Regions from separate parts of the Homo sapiens genome. Here regions 1, 2, 4 and 5 are each linked to region 3. The links are contacts of gene promoters, found by promoter capture Hi-C in blood cells and fetal thymus (Javierre and others, 2016). All regions are on one chromosome and are shown on one strand. Each heading gives the region's core, a stretch centred on a gene start or on the middle of the fragment in contact. The rest is flanking DNA. Distances are from core to core; before and after follow the strand shown. Region 1 has its middle 12 kb from the start of FJX1. Region 2 overlaps TRIM44 (tripartite motif containing 44). Region 3 holds the start of TRAF6 (TNF receptor associated factor 6). Region 4 has its middle 14 kb from the start of TRIM44. Region 5 overlaps TRIM44 (tripartite motif containing 44).

Region 1 (2,700 bases), core at 170-2,669, 880 kb after region 3:
ACCACAAAACGTTTCCCACTATGGGGACTAAGAAGGTAGAGTGATCATTTGTTGTGGTTAGGGTCACTCAGCATCTATTTCTTCAAGAACATCTGGTTTTCTTTGGAAAAGTACCCAGTTGTGGTTAATGTCGTTGAGTCCTATATCTAGTTCTCCCATACATGGTTCTCTCATACATATTCATCATGCCAAAGAGTGGGCATGTGATCTAAACTCAGGACTTCCAAAGTGCCAGGATTACAGGTGTGAGCCACCATGCCCAGCCGGAAACTGCCTTTGATAGAATGGATCATGGGAGGAGAGTCATTACATAATCTTCTCATGAACTATATAGCACAGACAACGTTGGTGCCTTTAAGTAGGATTATTAAGCACAGAATGTTTTTACTACATGTATTAGTCCATTCTCACGCTGCTATAAAGAACTACCTGAGACTGGGCAATTTATAAAGAAAAGAGGTTTAACTGGCTCACAGTTCCACAGGCTGTACAGGAAGCATGGCTGAGAGGTCTTGGGAAACTAACAATCATGGCAGGAGGCGAAGGGGAAGCGGCACATCTTACCATGGCAAAACAGGAGAGAGCGAAGGGTGAAGTGCTGCACACTTTTAAACAACCAGATCCTGTGAGAACTCTGTCACTAGAGAGTACTGGGGGGACGGTGCTAAATCATTAGAAACCACCCCCATGACCCAATAATCTCCCCCCAGGCCACCTCCAACACTGGGGATCACAACTCAACATGAACTTTGGGTGGGGACAAAGAGCCAAACCATATCACCACATAACAACCTTTGAACTGGGTGGAAATGAGTAGAAAAGAAGCCACTTAATCTGTGTTTCCACTTCTTTCTTGTGTCGTAGTGGTCAATGCCTAATAATTACTGAGTCTTTACTATGTGTCGGGCATTGTTGTAAGTACTTTGCATGTGTTATTCATAAATAGGTAGGTCTTATTATTATTATTATTCCTATATTCAGATGAGGAAACTCAGGGTCAGAGAGCATAAGTAACCTGCCTAAGGTCTCAGAGCCAGAAAATGGAGGAGCCAGGGTTTGAACCTAGAGAGTCCCCCTCTGTAATTCAGCCCTTACCACTATGAGATAGGGCCTCCCTCAGGGGTGAGGATTATGATATATCCATCTCCTGCCCTCTGTGCCTGGCACTTAATAGGTGCCTGCTTACCTCTGCAGCCTCGAACTATGCAATCCCCTTCTAGGGCAGTACTCTTCAATCATACCAGCCTTTCATTTCTGTACAGCAAGCTCCTTCTCTCAAGCTCTCAAATGCAATTCCTTCCAATTGAAATGCTCTCCACTCCTTCTTTTCTCCTCTATGCTGGCTGACTTCTGCTCATTGCTCTGGTCTCTGCTTAAATGCCAGATCCTTCAACCTCCAATGTGAGGTTGTCCCCTATTAACACTCTCATAGGGCCATGTATTTTCCTGTCATCCCATTTATTACAGTAATAATTTGCTTAATGTCTGTCTCCTCTACCAGACTCTACACTACAGAAGATCAGAAACCATATCACTCCAGTTAACTGACCTGTTCCTACCACCTAACACAGTGTCTGACCCAAAGTTAGCAGCCAGGAAACATGAATGCAATGAGCAGATGCTCAGTGTCTGTTTGCCAAGTAAATTGAGGCTTTAAAACAGGAGAACTAAAGATAGGGCTTAGGATGATACCTCTGTTGTTCCATGGATTTGAACCTTTACATCTTATACCCAGGAAATACTATTCAAATTACATAAGGTGAAGTCAGAACTTACTGTTGGCCTTAGTGCCGGGTTACTGGTTCAAGAACTCTCTGCTACTCCAGGTGTTAACCTGTTAGTTGCAGGATCATGGGATGGTAGTGGGGATTGTTCAGAAACATGGAAGAGTCACTCTGGGGCCGCAGAGTAGACATTTATCAACTGAGCTGGAAGTATTTCGATAGTCTAATAACCAACGTAACTATACTCATACATGCAGCACATACCTGGGCCATGAGTAATCACTTGAAAACAGCCCACGAGGGATTTCGCATGGAGCACCAACTTCTGAATTGCTAAGTCCAGAGTCATTACAATAATTTTTATGGCATGAGTCATGCATCCAGCATCATAGTATCAGAAAAGACAGACACTTATGTGGAGTTGGGTCACGAATGTTATATTGCAGAGAGACTTTGGATGGGTCCCAATTATAAACAGGTGGAGGAGAAGGGAGCCACACAGCAATGTTTTCTGGGCATCTTTTATTAGCTCAATGCCTTGAGAAGTCAAAGATGCTTAACCTGTTTTTTCATTAGCATTTTTGATTTCGCTAATAGGTCACTAGAGATAGGCTCACTAAATAATGAAATTGAATGTGCTGCCTCTGGAAGGGCAAGGTTGAGATTCATGTGTGATGGCAAAGCCTTTCTTTTTTGAAAGGTTGGCAGAATGTGCTCTTCAGCGTCAAGGGGCCAAAGATCAAGTGGTGATGGCTGGACTTCGCATAGTTGGGAGCTGTAGCACAGGCAGGATGCTGACTGCAAATGAAAAGTAATTTTCCCTGGAGTAACTTGACCTTTCTTTAATCCTAAATGTAACCTGCAGAGGCACTAGCTCTTTCCCCTGCAATGTGGCATCATTTTGCTGGCTCTGATGCTGATTGAAGGTCAACGTGAGGGCTATCTGTACCAGAGGCAAAGGCTGCTTCTTTGCCAC
Region 2 (2,704 bases), core at 178-2,677, 820 kb after region 3:
TCATAAGCCTAGATTTTTATCTACCTTTTTTCCAAAGTTGAAATCACCTGGACTTATTTCTAGGGGCTCTTCTACTTGTTCAAAGAAGTGAAAAAAAATCATTAGCAAACATAGAGGAAAACAGCTAAGGTACAGCACAGAGGTTCTCAAAGTGTGGTACTTGAAACAGCAACATCAGCATCACCTGATAATTTCATAGAAATGAACATTGTCTAGCCACCCCAGGCCAATTGAATAAAAAACTCTGGAGGTGGGCACAGCACTCTATATTTTAATACGTCTTCTGGGTGATTTTCATGTACACTGAAGTTTAAGAACCTCTGGGTCTGGAAGAAAAGAAGATGTCTGACAAATGTTTTGAATAAAATGAGGCATCTCATTAAACAGAATCAAGTCTATATTTTTGACACAGAAGAATATCTAAGATATTCCACATAAAGGAAAAAGCAATTGTAAAACCATGGGTATAATTTTGTAAAAGAATTTTGAAAAGGTACTACATAGAAAAATGTCTAGAAGGTTACATACTAAACTGTTAACAGTGGCTAACTTAGGGGAGATTTTACTTTTTCTTTATGAATATCTGTATTTTTAAATCTATAAGTATGTATTATTTTATAATTTTAAAAAAATGATTAATTTAGACATCTTCTACTGCTCTCTAGCAAAACTCAAGAGGTAAAAATTAACTCATTCCCCAATAGGCTTCAGTGTCTGGACTAATCAAGCTTTGTGATGCTTTAGGGAATTCTAGAGGAAGTGAGGCAGAGATAGTGCTCAGTCCTCCATGACTCAATCAGTGCTTCTATGTAAAGCCTCTGTGCCCAGGAAATGACAGGTCACAAAGCCTAAGAGATTTCTGCCCTTCTTAAATAGGCCAACTCAAAAAGGGGATGGTGGGGCTCTGTGGGAAAACAGAACAGACAAAAACTTAAGGGTTGTCTTGGAAGATGCCAATTTATTTCTAGGAAAATCTTCTTTGTGCAGAAATTATATATTTAAGTGGCCTGTTTTTTACCCCCATTCCTGACCTGGCAGTCATTCTGCAATTACGTTCACCCTTCTTCAAGCTGGCTCCAAGTATATACAGCATATGGTTGTGGTAGACTAAAAAGGGGCTTGAAAATAAAATAGGTTGGTAGTAAATGATCCAGGGCAAAATAAAAAGAACGTAAAAAAGAGGTGCAGGTATACACACACACCCAAGATCAAGTCGGGTCCTTACAAATATCCTTTACCTTATGATGCATCAAGAGAAAACCCTGACACTTCCAGGGATTCCTCTCATGCAACCGCTCAAACCTTTCACTTTCTGGCAAGCTTTCCATCAGAAGCACTACATGCATTCATAAAGGATCCCAAAGCACTTTACCTGTATTATAGTCATACACAGAGAACACTCAGTGTGATTTGTACACATCCGCTCCCTCTTCACTGCACTGCTAATTATAAGTTTGGCGGAATCAGAATATGGTTGTCTCCTGCAGAACAGGAGTTGCTCCAGAAACCAGAGAAACTTGGTAAGAAAAGCTTTCAGTAACTTTTAATAAGTGGTTCATCCTAGCTAAAGGAAAAACTTTTATCAGGGGTCCTCCTACTTTGAGCTAGGAAAGTTGATAAAGGTTACTCTAATTTTTTCTATCTACCAACCTAACTCTCTACTTCTGGAACCCTGACTACACCAGAAGACAAGAGATCTTACCAATGTCCCCGATATTTTCATTGCCATATGAAGAGAAATTTATTCTTGTGGCTGCAGCCACCTTTTGAAGAGCCCACCAGTCTATGGCTCTGCCACATATTGTGTTTCAATTTAGAAAACTGCAGCACAATGTGATCATGTGGCAGAAAGGAGATAAAATCCAGTGCTTGGTTTGCATGACATAAGATAAAGAGTATAGGCACTGGAGTCAGAGTTTGAATTCCACATCTATATTACATTAGATTTGGGCAGATGATTCTACCTTTCTAAACCTCAGTGTTCTTATCAATAAAGTAGGAAGAAAATGCTACTTTACAGTGTTGTTAAATAATTAAAAGTATTTAAGGGGAGAGCAGGAATGAGAAGTTAGCATTTAATGGGTACCGAATTTCAGTTTGGGATAGTAAAAAAGCTCTAGAGATGGACAGTGATGATGGCTGCACAACAAAGTGTGGCCAGGTGTGGTGGCTCACGCCCATAATCCCAGCACTTTGGGAGACTGAGGCGGGCAGATCACTTGAGGTCAGGAGTTCGAAACCAGCCTGGCCAACATGGTGAAACTCTGTCGCTAGTAAAAACACAAAAAGTTAGCTGGGTGTGGTGGCATGTGCCTGTAGTCTCAGCCACTCAGGCGGCTGAGGCAGGAGAATCACTTGAACCTGGGAGGGAGAGGTTGCACTGAGCCGAGATCATGCCACTGCACTCCAACCTGGGCATCAGAGCGAGATTCCGTCTCAAAAAAACAAAAAACAAAAACAAACAAACAAACAAAAAACCAAAGTGAATGTACTTAATGCCATTGAACTGTACACTCAAAAATGGTTAAAATTTTGTATGTATATTTTAGTACAATCATGTAAGAGTCCTAGCAAAGTGCCTGACTCTCAGTAGATACTCAAGAAATGCTAGTCCCATTCCTCTTAAAAAAAAAAAAAACAAAAACAAAAACAAAAAGAACCTACAGTAAAATAAAATCATGCGCCTTTCCCTATTTAATTGTGA
Region 3 (2,708 bases), core at 100-2,599:
AAAGGGGGTTGACAGAACCTGAGAACCAGTGATAAATTCTTCTTAAAAAGAGAAGCATTTTTAATGAATATTGGCAGCCAGAAAGTAGGACATATAGTATTGGTAACATTTATTGAGCCCATACTATGTCCTAGTTTTGGGTTTATTTGTTTGTTCGTTTGTTCCTTGAGACAGGGTCTCACTCTGTCACCCAGGCTGGAATGCAGTGGTGCAATCATGGCTTACTGTAGCCTTGACTGCCAGGGCTCAAGCCATCCTCCCACCTCAGCCTCCAGAGTAGCCGAGACTACAGATATGCACCACCACACCCAGGTAATTTTTAAATTTTGTGTAAAGATGGGGTCTCACTATGTTGCCCAGGCTGGTCTCAAATTCCTGGCCTCAAGTGATCCTCCTGCCTTAGCCTCCCAAAGTACTGGGATTATAGGCATGAGCCTATTTGTGCCTGGCCAGATAGTTTTAAATAATTTCTTTACATATTTTATCTCATCCTTCCAACAACCCTGTGAGGTAGATACTATTATTATCCCCATGTTAATACGAGATGAGAAAACTGAAACAAGTACAGATTAAGTATTTTACCTGAATCACACATTTATTGTAGGAAAAACCGGATTGGAACCAAGCATTCTGGCTTCAGGATACATACGCATGACTACTATCCTGGAAAACCTCCCCTAAGAGGTGGACGATGAACCAAATATGCAGAGGTGGATGAAACTCTTTTGTGCTTCTCCAGCAAAACGCGTGGTACATTCTCTAGACGTTTATGACCAGTTAAACAGGGAATTTAAAATAGTTTTCCCATGACAGAGAAAGACAAAGCGCTGGTGTTCTTGGCAGGAAATTCAAAGAAATATTTAAGGCAAGGGCTGACTCCCTTGGACCGGATGAAGGGGAAGAGCAGGTAATAATAGAGGGTTCTATGGATCGCAGAAACTTCCTGGGCAAGGAGGGTGGAGCTGGGGAGGGGTTTAAGAATTCCTGAAGGTCAAGCGATCTAGCCCAGCTGGGGTTTTCTCCTGCTTGGAGAGGGGTGCTATAAAAGCGCAGTTTGGGATTACTACTGTCGCCACTGCTCACCAAATTAAGTTATTCCGGGAGGGATCTTCTCGTCGCCATCCTCATTCCAACACACACCCATTGACACACTCGGGTTCGGCTGTGCGGTGCAACGAATTCCCAGGTGGGACACCCGAGCAGGAAGAAAGCCAGGCTGCGGGGCTGGGGGCGCCGCCCGGCCCGCGCCACAGTCCGCCTGGAGGATCACCGCCAGGGGGCACTCTCTCCGAACTCGGCCGCTCTGTCTCCTCCCCGGCGCGCTCCCTGCCCCTCGCTCCCCGCAGCCAGCAGAGAAGGCGGAAGCAGTGGCGTCCGCAGCTGGGGCTTGGCCTGCGGGCGGCCAGCGAAGGTGGCGAAGGCTCCCACTGGATCCAGAGTTTGCCGTCCAAGCAGCCTCGTCTCGGCGCGCAGTGTCTGTGTCCGTCCTCTACCAGCGCCTTGGCTGAGCGGAGTCGTGCGGTTGGTGGGGGAGCCCTGCCCTCCTGGTTCGGCCTCCCCGCGCACTAGAACGGTGAGTCTCCTTCAGGCGCCTCCTCCTGGCGGCCGCCGCCTCGCTTCCCAGCGGTCAGGGACGCCGCCCCCCGCCCCTTCGCTCTCGGCAGGTCGGGGACGCAGTCCCTGTCCCCTCGCTTCCCACCAGTCGGGGACGCCTCCCCTGTCCCTTCGCTTTTCACAGGTCAGGGACGCCGCCCCTACCCGCTTGCTTCCCACGGGTCGGGGACGCCGCCCCTGTCCTCTCGCTTCCCGCTGGTCGAGGACACCGTTCCCTGCCCCTCGCTTCCTGCAGGTCGGGACGCAGCCTCTGTCCCCACGCTTCCCACAGGTCGGGGACACCGTTCCCTGTCCCCTGACCTCTGCTCCCCAGGCCTCCTCTTCCTCGCTCATTCCACCCCCTAAAAAACCCCGCGTCGCCTTACTCAACCTCGCTCCCCTCAACTCCGCTTTTTCCCCTTCCCAGATAAGGAAATTGCCTCCTGCAGTTGTCCGCTCCTTGGAGCAAACACCTGCTTAAATTTTTAAAAAATCCTTTACGTTCCTGGCGACTCCGGCTGTCACTGTCATGGGAAAGCTATTTTTGGATTCCCTGTTGAACTCTATAGAAGTCTCAGGCAGCGAGTTTAAAAAAAAAAAAAGGCTCAGATGACACGAATGTTTTCTCCCCCGCCCCTAAACTCGGTAGTTCGAGCGATTGTTCCAGACGCCGGGTTGATAAAGCTGTTCCTAGTATTTGGCTTAAGGGGAACTCCAGCTGAGTTAGGACTGTCTTGAATGTGAACAGAAAGCACCTAAATAAAGTATTAGCAGCTTCGCTGTATGGTATTTAATTGTTTCTTTCTCTGAGAGCAGATTACTATTACTGAATGTCTTGTTACACAGGTTCCATGTAGAAACGAGAAAAACTGGTAAAGAAATTCTGTGTTGGCCTTGTGAACTTGGCCGCTATCATTTCATTCATTCTCCTTTGATTACTAGGGAAGGGAGAGGGGCTTTTCAAATTTTGAGGTTGAGTGTATAGGCAGGAACAATGTGGCCTCTTTTGTGACTCTAGGAAGGAGTCCGGCATGTGGTGGGTACAGGATCACATCAGAGTTTCAGCCTGCATGCACCACAATATTTCAGAATTGTAACATGAGCTCTTCTCTGTG
Region 4 (2,831 bases), core at 27-2,526, 860 kb after region 3:
CTGCCTCAGCCTCCCTGAGTAGCTAGGACTATAGGCATGTGCCACCACACCTGGCTAACTTTAAAATTATTATTATTATTTTGTAGAGACAGGGTCTCACTATGTTGCTGGGGCTGGTCTTGAACTCCTGGCCTCAAGCCATCCTCCCACCCTGACCTCCCAAAGCACTGGGATTATAGGTGTGAGCCACTGTGCCCGGCCATTATGCCAGGTTTAATGATCAAGCAGTGGGTTGAGAATGCAGAAATCTAAGTTCTTGCCATGCCTCTGCCACTAATGAGCTATGTGGCTCTGAGCAAGTCCTTTAACTTCACTGGCTCTTCAGTCTCTGTGAAATGAGTGAGCTAAAGTAGATGATTCCTGTTTTGGTTGTCTATTGCTATGCCACACACCACTCCAAAATGTAGGTGCTGAAAACAATAATGATTCATTATTTCTCAGGATGGTATGGATTGTCTGGGCTCAGCTGGCTAGTTCTTCTGCTTTATATGGTATTGGCTGGGATCACTCACGCAGCTGCTTTCAGAGGGGTGCTCAGCTGGAGCTGCAACATCCAAGATGGTGTTGCCCACTTGTTTAGCAGCTATGTTTGTCAACCTCAATTCTACCCTAGGGAGAGGAACTCTTATCCTCTAGGGCTAGAATAATCCAAACATGTTTACGCTGTCTTCATCCTGAAATCCATATAGACCCTAAGGCACATTTGAGACCTGACAAGATTCAGAGTTGAACTGAAAGGAATCACTGCGTCATGCAAGAAAGCAAAACTTGATCTGCAGTTCTTTCTCTACACAGTCCCTCCTGCTGGATAACCTGAACTTCCTTACATGGTTCCAAGAGGATGAAAATGGAAGCTTGAAAGCTTCTTAAGGCCTAGTCCAGATGTCATTCAATATTACTTTCATTGTAGAATATTTATCAAAGCAAGTCAGTGGTCAACTAAGATTCAAGAAGAGGGAGAAAGGGCTCTACCTCCTGAAGACTTTCAGAGTTACATTATAAAAGGGCATGCAGGATGGGAAGGATGGTTCTGACCATTTTTCAAAGCAATTACCATAATCTGTGTGGTCCGTGTTGGTTCTGCCAGTCCATATTTAAACCTAAAGCTCTGAGACAATTCCCGTTCTTCTCAATTTGGTTTTTGAACTCTGTGAATTCCCCACTGAGTGCCTAGTATGTTCCAGGTCTTGAACTGTCTTTGCTCTCCGTTTAGTTCTAATAGACATTCATTGTTTTTTCTACCTGGTGTCCCCTCAGCCTCCTTCTGGTAACCAACTCCCCAGTTTGCCTCAGGGAGCTGAGGCACACATAGCTGGTTAAAACCCAGCTTCCCTACTAACAGAACTCTCATCTCTCCAGATATTTAGATATTAACATCCTCAGCCCTGGAGCATGAACCATCATAGAGCTAAGCCAATCATGAGAATCCCAACCTCTTTTGCCAGTAATAGGTTTTGAGGTGTATATGTGACCAAGCCTTGGCTAATGAGGCATTAAGGCAAGTCTCATCGGGGCACTTCTGGAAAAGATTTCCTTTTCTAAACAGAAGAAAGAGACTTGCAAGAGGAAAGCCCTGTCCCTTCCTTCCTGCTTTAGGATCTTGTGAGGAACAAGCTATGGAAGCCATCTTATAATCATGAGAGTAAGAGACCATAGAGAAACACCTAGACCCCCGACATTATTAAGCTTTGGATTTATCCAACTGCTATGTCACCCAGTGCTATGATTTGGATATGGTTTGTTTGGCCCTGCCACGTCTCATGTTGAAATTTGAAATTTGATCCCCAGTGTTGGAGGCGGGGCTTGGTGGAAGGTGTTTGGATTATGGGGGTGGATCCTTCATGGAGGGCTTGGTGCCATTCTCAAGGGAGTTAATTAATTCCCATTTTGTCTCCCCCTACCTCCTGCCCTGCCCCTCTGAGAACCGATTGTGGAAAGGAGGCTGTCACCTCCTCCTCCTTCTCCTTCTCCTTTTCCTTCTCCTCTTTCTCCTTCTCTTTCTCTTTCTCCTTCTCCTTCTTTCTCTCTCTCTCCCTCTCTCTCTCTCCCCCTCCCTCTTCCTGCTCTCGCTCTGTGACAGGCTCCCCTTCATCTTCCACCATAAGGGGAAGCAGCTTGAGGCTCTCACCAGATGCAGATGCTGGCACCATGCTTCTTGTACAGCCTGTGAACCATGAGCCAAATAAATATTTTCTCTTTATAAATGATCCAGTCTCAGTTATTTCTTTATAACAACACAGACGAATTAAGACACCAACCCAGATCGCTTACCTGTGGACTTCTTGTTATGTGAGATAATACAGCCGTATAAATAAGCAAGTCTGTTATCTGCTGTCAAAAGTATCCCTCTTCTACTCCTCTGAATCTGTATGGTTCTAGAGACACTGACTCCATGAGTAATTCTAGGAAGGAACTTACAACCCAGAACTAAGCAATTAGCATCTGTATTCACCTGACCACAGTGGTTATTTCAAAGATGGGCCAGGACTCTGGCAGAGCCAGAGAGGCAATGTGATTTTTCTTGGGACTTCTGAGAAAGAGGATATTTTTTCCTTTTTTTTTTTTTTCCTGCTGGACCTAGAAGGAAAGAGGAATAGTGGCTGGAGCTGCTGGATTTCCCTACATCTTGCTGACTTGAAGAATCCACTCCAAGGAAGGTAGACACAAGAGAAAAAAAGAAAACCAATTCCTTTTTTCTAAAACAAAGTTTTCAAAAAAATTATAGATTCAAAAAACTGACTCTTGATAAGATCACTGAGTCTTAAATCCAATTATGCCTGAAGCCCTAATTCTGCATTTTTCAGTTTACTTGACCCACCCTTTTTTTTTAA
Region 5 (2,700 bases), core at 74-2,573, 800 kb after region 3:
ATACAGAATTTATACTATTTTTAAGTCTTGACTTAAAATAAGTTAGACTTGAATATACAAAGAAAGCCTATTTTATCTGAAGATTAAAGCAATTTTAAAATAAGACTCAATCTCCATTCCAGTTCTCTCAAGCAGTTTCCCTATAAAGCCACAGTTATTTGTATTTTATTAAAACACAACACCAAAACAACTGCATACTGCCACAAATACTCAGGAAAGGGCACTGAGACGTAGCTCTCATGTTTGCTGAGTCTTCTTTCCTACATAGGGTCACAACGGTACAGCATATGGACTTTGATAGAGTAGAGAAAGGGGTTTGAGGACTGGTTCTGCTAACTCCATGCTTCTGAAGCTCAGAAAGGTGAAAATTTCTCCATAAAAAGTTTCTTTGTAAAATGAGGGTAATAATAACATTCTCATAGATATTTTTCTAAACTTAACACAAAATAATACATGGAAAGCACTTAGGGCTCTCCGGGCACACAGAACCATCAGCAGAACCATTCTGCTCATTAGAGATAATAGTAACTGTGAACTTTTATTGTGTGCCTCCCATATGGTATCTACTGAGCTCTCACAGAAGAAGAGTCCCCAATAAGCTTTCCTAAAGAAAAGAGGGAGCCTATGCCCTTGGGAGTTTAGATCTAATTTCCCAAGGGAACATCTAAAAGACTTTCCTACTCATCCTAGGCATTGAAAAGTAAAGATATCAATACTGAGGCTCCTTGCCTCAGTTTCAAATAAATGGCCACAAGGTGTCAAGGAGCAATGGCTGCCTTTTCTGATTTGATCAGATCTGACTGCCCAACATCTCAGGGTCAGTCTACTTCAATGATACAGAAGCAAAGTACAGAAAGCACAGGAAGGATGGGTCACATTCTGTTCCTCTGTACCTACACAAAGTCAGTCTATGGGCGTAGTTGGCTCCTCAATCTCACAACTTGCCTCTCATGGTATTTTCTCTTCTTTGTAGACTGAAACCCTACTCTACTCCCTTAAGGAGCTAACAACCTGCTTACCCAAGAACCACAGTGCTCTTAAACTAACTACAGTTGCTAACATACATTTAAGTCCCCAAAATCATCTTCCACTGTTTCTTATCTCCTCACAAGTTTTCATTTTCAGGATCTTCATTAATAAAAATATAGTATGATTAGTCCTCCTTTATAGATAAAACTGAAATATATGGACTCATGTCATCTGACTCCAATATTTGTGCTCTTTCACCAAAAAAAAAAAAAAAGCATGTCATATTCAATGTAAACTTTTACCCTTAAGTCTGAACAAATACTACATTGGAATACCATTCTCAATACATCTTCTATAGGCAAAAGTTAATAACTTCTATATAGAAGTCATAGAAAGGCAACTTACTAGCATCTTTAGCCTCGTGAACAAGTCACTTAACCTCTTAAATCTTTGTTTCTTCATTTATAAAAGGGGATCATAATGTCTAAATAAATGGGCTGAGTTAGGAAGTAGGGAGACATGGTAGAATCTATTTTGCCTGCTGCAGAGGTAAACAAAAGTCATTAAACAAGGGGATGAACATCAGCTGAATCACTGGGTTGAATGAAATGTCTCTTCGTAGGTGTAAAGACCTGATAAATTCTGCCCTTTGGCTAAATGCAGTCAATCAGGAGAGAGGCACTGTTCTCAAATTTTATATTTATATATATGTATAAGCATCTACATATAGATCTGAGGTAGACCGAGAGTTGCATTCTGCAGGTTTGGTCTAAGAATATCAAAGAAAACACCTTTTTCCCTGAGCAAATCTGATTTTATTTCTTTAACTGAATGAGAGCTTGAACTAACAGGGAAAGAGGAAGGAGGGGGACAGGAGAGCAGCAGGCCCTTAAATAAAAGTCTGGGTGATTTTATCACTATTATCACAATAAAGTTTTATATCTAGGTACCCCGGCTCCTAAATTAACTGTCAAATACAATCCTGCACTGGAAACCTGAAGCGTGGCTGCTATGGGGGAGTCCTGACAGCTTCACTCCTCTCTCCAGGTTCGCTGTGTAATCAGCCCTTCAAGCTTTTGGCAAAGAGTATACTATCAAGTCTCCTGTCAGTGCAGAGAGGAGCTGGAGCAGGAGGAAGAAGACATCACAAAGTGTTAATTTTATTAAGCCATTTAAAGCTCAATCCCTCTGCTTTGTAACAATGCTCCAGTCCACCAGGCAGCTTGGAAACCATGCCCACCTTAGTTTTTAAATGACTATAATCTATTGGTGCTGTGGTTCAATTAGGAGGTCTGGGGCTCCAGTAAGAAAGAGAAGGATAAGGTAAAGCTGCAGGGGAAGGGAGAAGAGGAGGTAGGGAGTGAAGAATCTCAGTAGCGTTTACTTTAAAGTGGGAATATATTTCCTAATGTGTTTCTTAAATAACTTTAAGTAAAGTTATTCCTAAAATAACTTCTTTATTTTTCTTATAGTTGGGCACCAAGCAGTTCTGCTAACTAGGGAGTCTGCTTCATAACAATAAACATACTTGCTTCAATGCATTGATTTCTTCTTTCTATTGGGAATATATGGACACACAACTACACACTCCCAAGGCAGATACATTTGCTTTGACTTGAACAGGCAACAGACCTATGCTGAACTACTGCCAGTTACTCTGCAGCCAGGCAAGTTCACTCACAGAGTGAGTGAGCCAACAAACCACACACCAAGGGATCCCAAAAGTGGAGA

Evidence for each region. The method cuts DNA at HindIII sites, captures the fragments that hold promoters and counts their contacts. A CHiCAGO score of 5 or more calls a contact.
Region 1: a contact is called between a fragment that was not itself captured here and the fragment with the promoter of TRAF6 in region 3, in 3 of 17 cell types (total B cells, non-activated CD4 T cells and naive CD8 T cells). The highest score is 7.2, in total B cells.
Region 2: a fragment that was not itself captured here is called in contact with the fragment with the promoter of TRAF6 in region 3 in 4 of 17 cell types (total CD4 T cells, total CD8 T cells, naive CD8 T cells and 1 more); the score reaches 8.2 in total CD4 T cells.
Region 4: a contact is called between a fragment that was not itself captured here and the fragment with the promoter of TRAF6 in region 3, in 8 of 17 cell types (non-activated CD4 T cells, activated CD4 T cells, total CD4 T cells and 5 more). The highest score is 9.8, in non-activated CD4 T cells.
Region 5: a fragment that was not itself captured here is called in contact with the fragment with the promoter of TRAF6 in region 3 in 2 of 17 cell types (naive B cells and total B cells); the score reaches 6.2 in naive B cells.

Annotation. Positions count from the first base shown.
Region 1 is chr11:35,629,497-35,632,196 of GRCh38, reverse strand. No RefSeq gene overlaps it. Among named protein-coding and RNA genes, the nearest start is that of FJX1, 12 kb to the right of the region's middle. RefSeq lists an enhancer at 1,594-2,700. The HindIII fragment of the contact is 4,468 bases long and covers 1-2,700 here.
Region 2 is chr11:35,686,309-35,689,012 of GRCh38, reverse strand. All of the region lies in intron 2 of TRIM44 (tripartite motif containing 44), which reads right to left. Among named protein-coding and RNA genes, the nearest start is that of TRIM44, 25 kb to the right of the region's middle. The HindIII fragment of the contact is 210 bases long and covers 1,323-1,532 here.
Region 3 is chr11:36,508,913-36,511,620 of GRCh38, reverse strand. It overlaps TRAF6 (TNF receptor associated factor 6), which reads left to right and starts at 1,349. Exons shown (of 7, transcript NM_004620.4): 1 at 1,349-1,573. It also overlaps a transcript of RAG1 not described here. RefSeq lists an enhancer at 1,481-1,530. The HindIII fragment of the contact is 10,105 bases long and covers 1-2,708 here.
Region 4 is chr11:35,646,907-35,649,737 of GRCh38, reverse strand. No RefSeq gene overlaps it. Among named protein-coding and RNA genes, the nearest start is that of TRIM44, 14 kb to the left of the region's middle. The HindIII fragment of the contact is 824 bases long and covers 865-1,688 here.
Region 5 is chr11:35,712,046-35,714,745 of GRCh38, reverse strand. The region is part of intron 2 of TRIM44 (tripartite motif containing 44); the gene reads right to left. Among named protein-coding and RNA genes, the nearest start is that of TRIM44, 51 kb to the right of the region's middle. The HindIII fragment of the contact is 1,443 bases long and covers 602-2,044 here.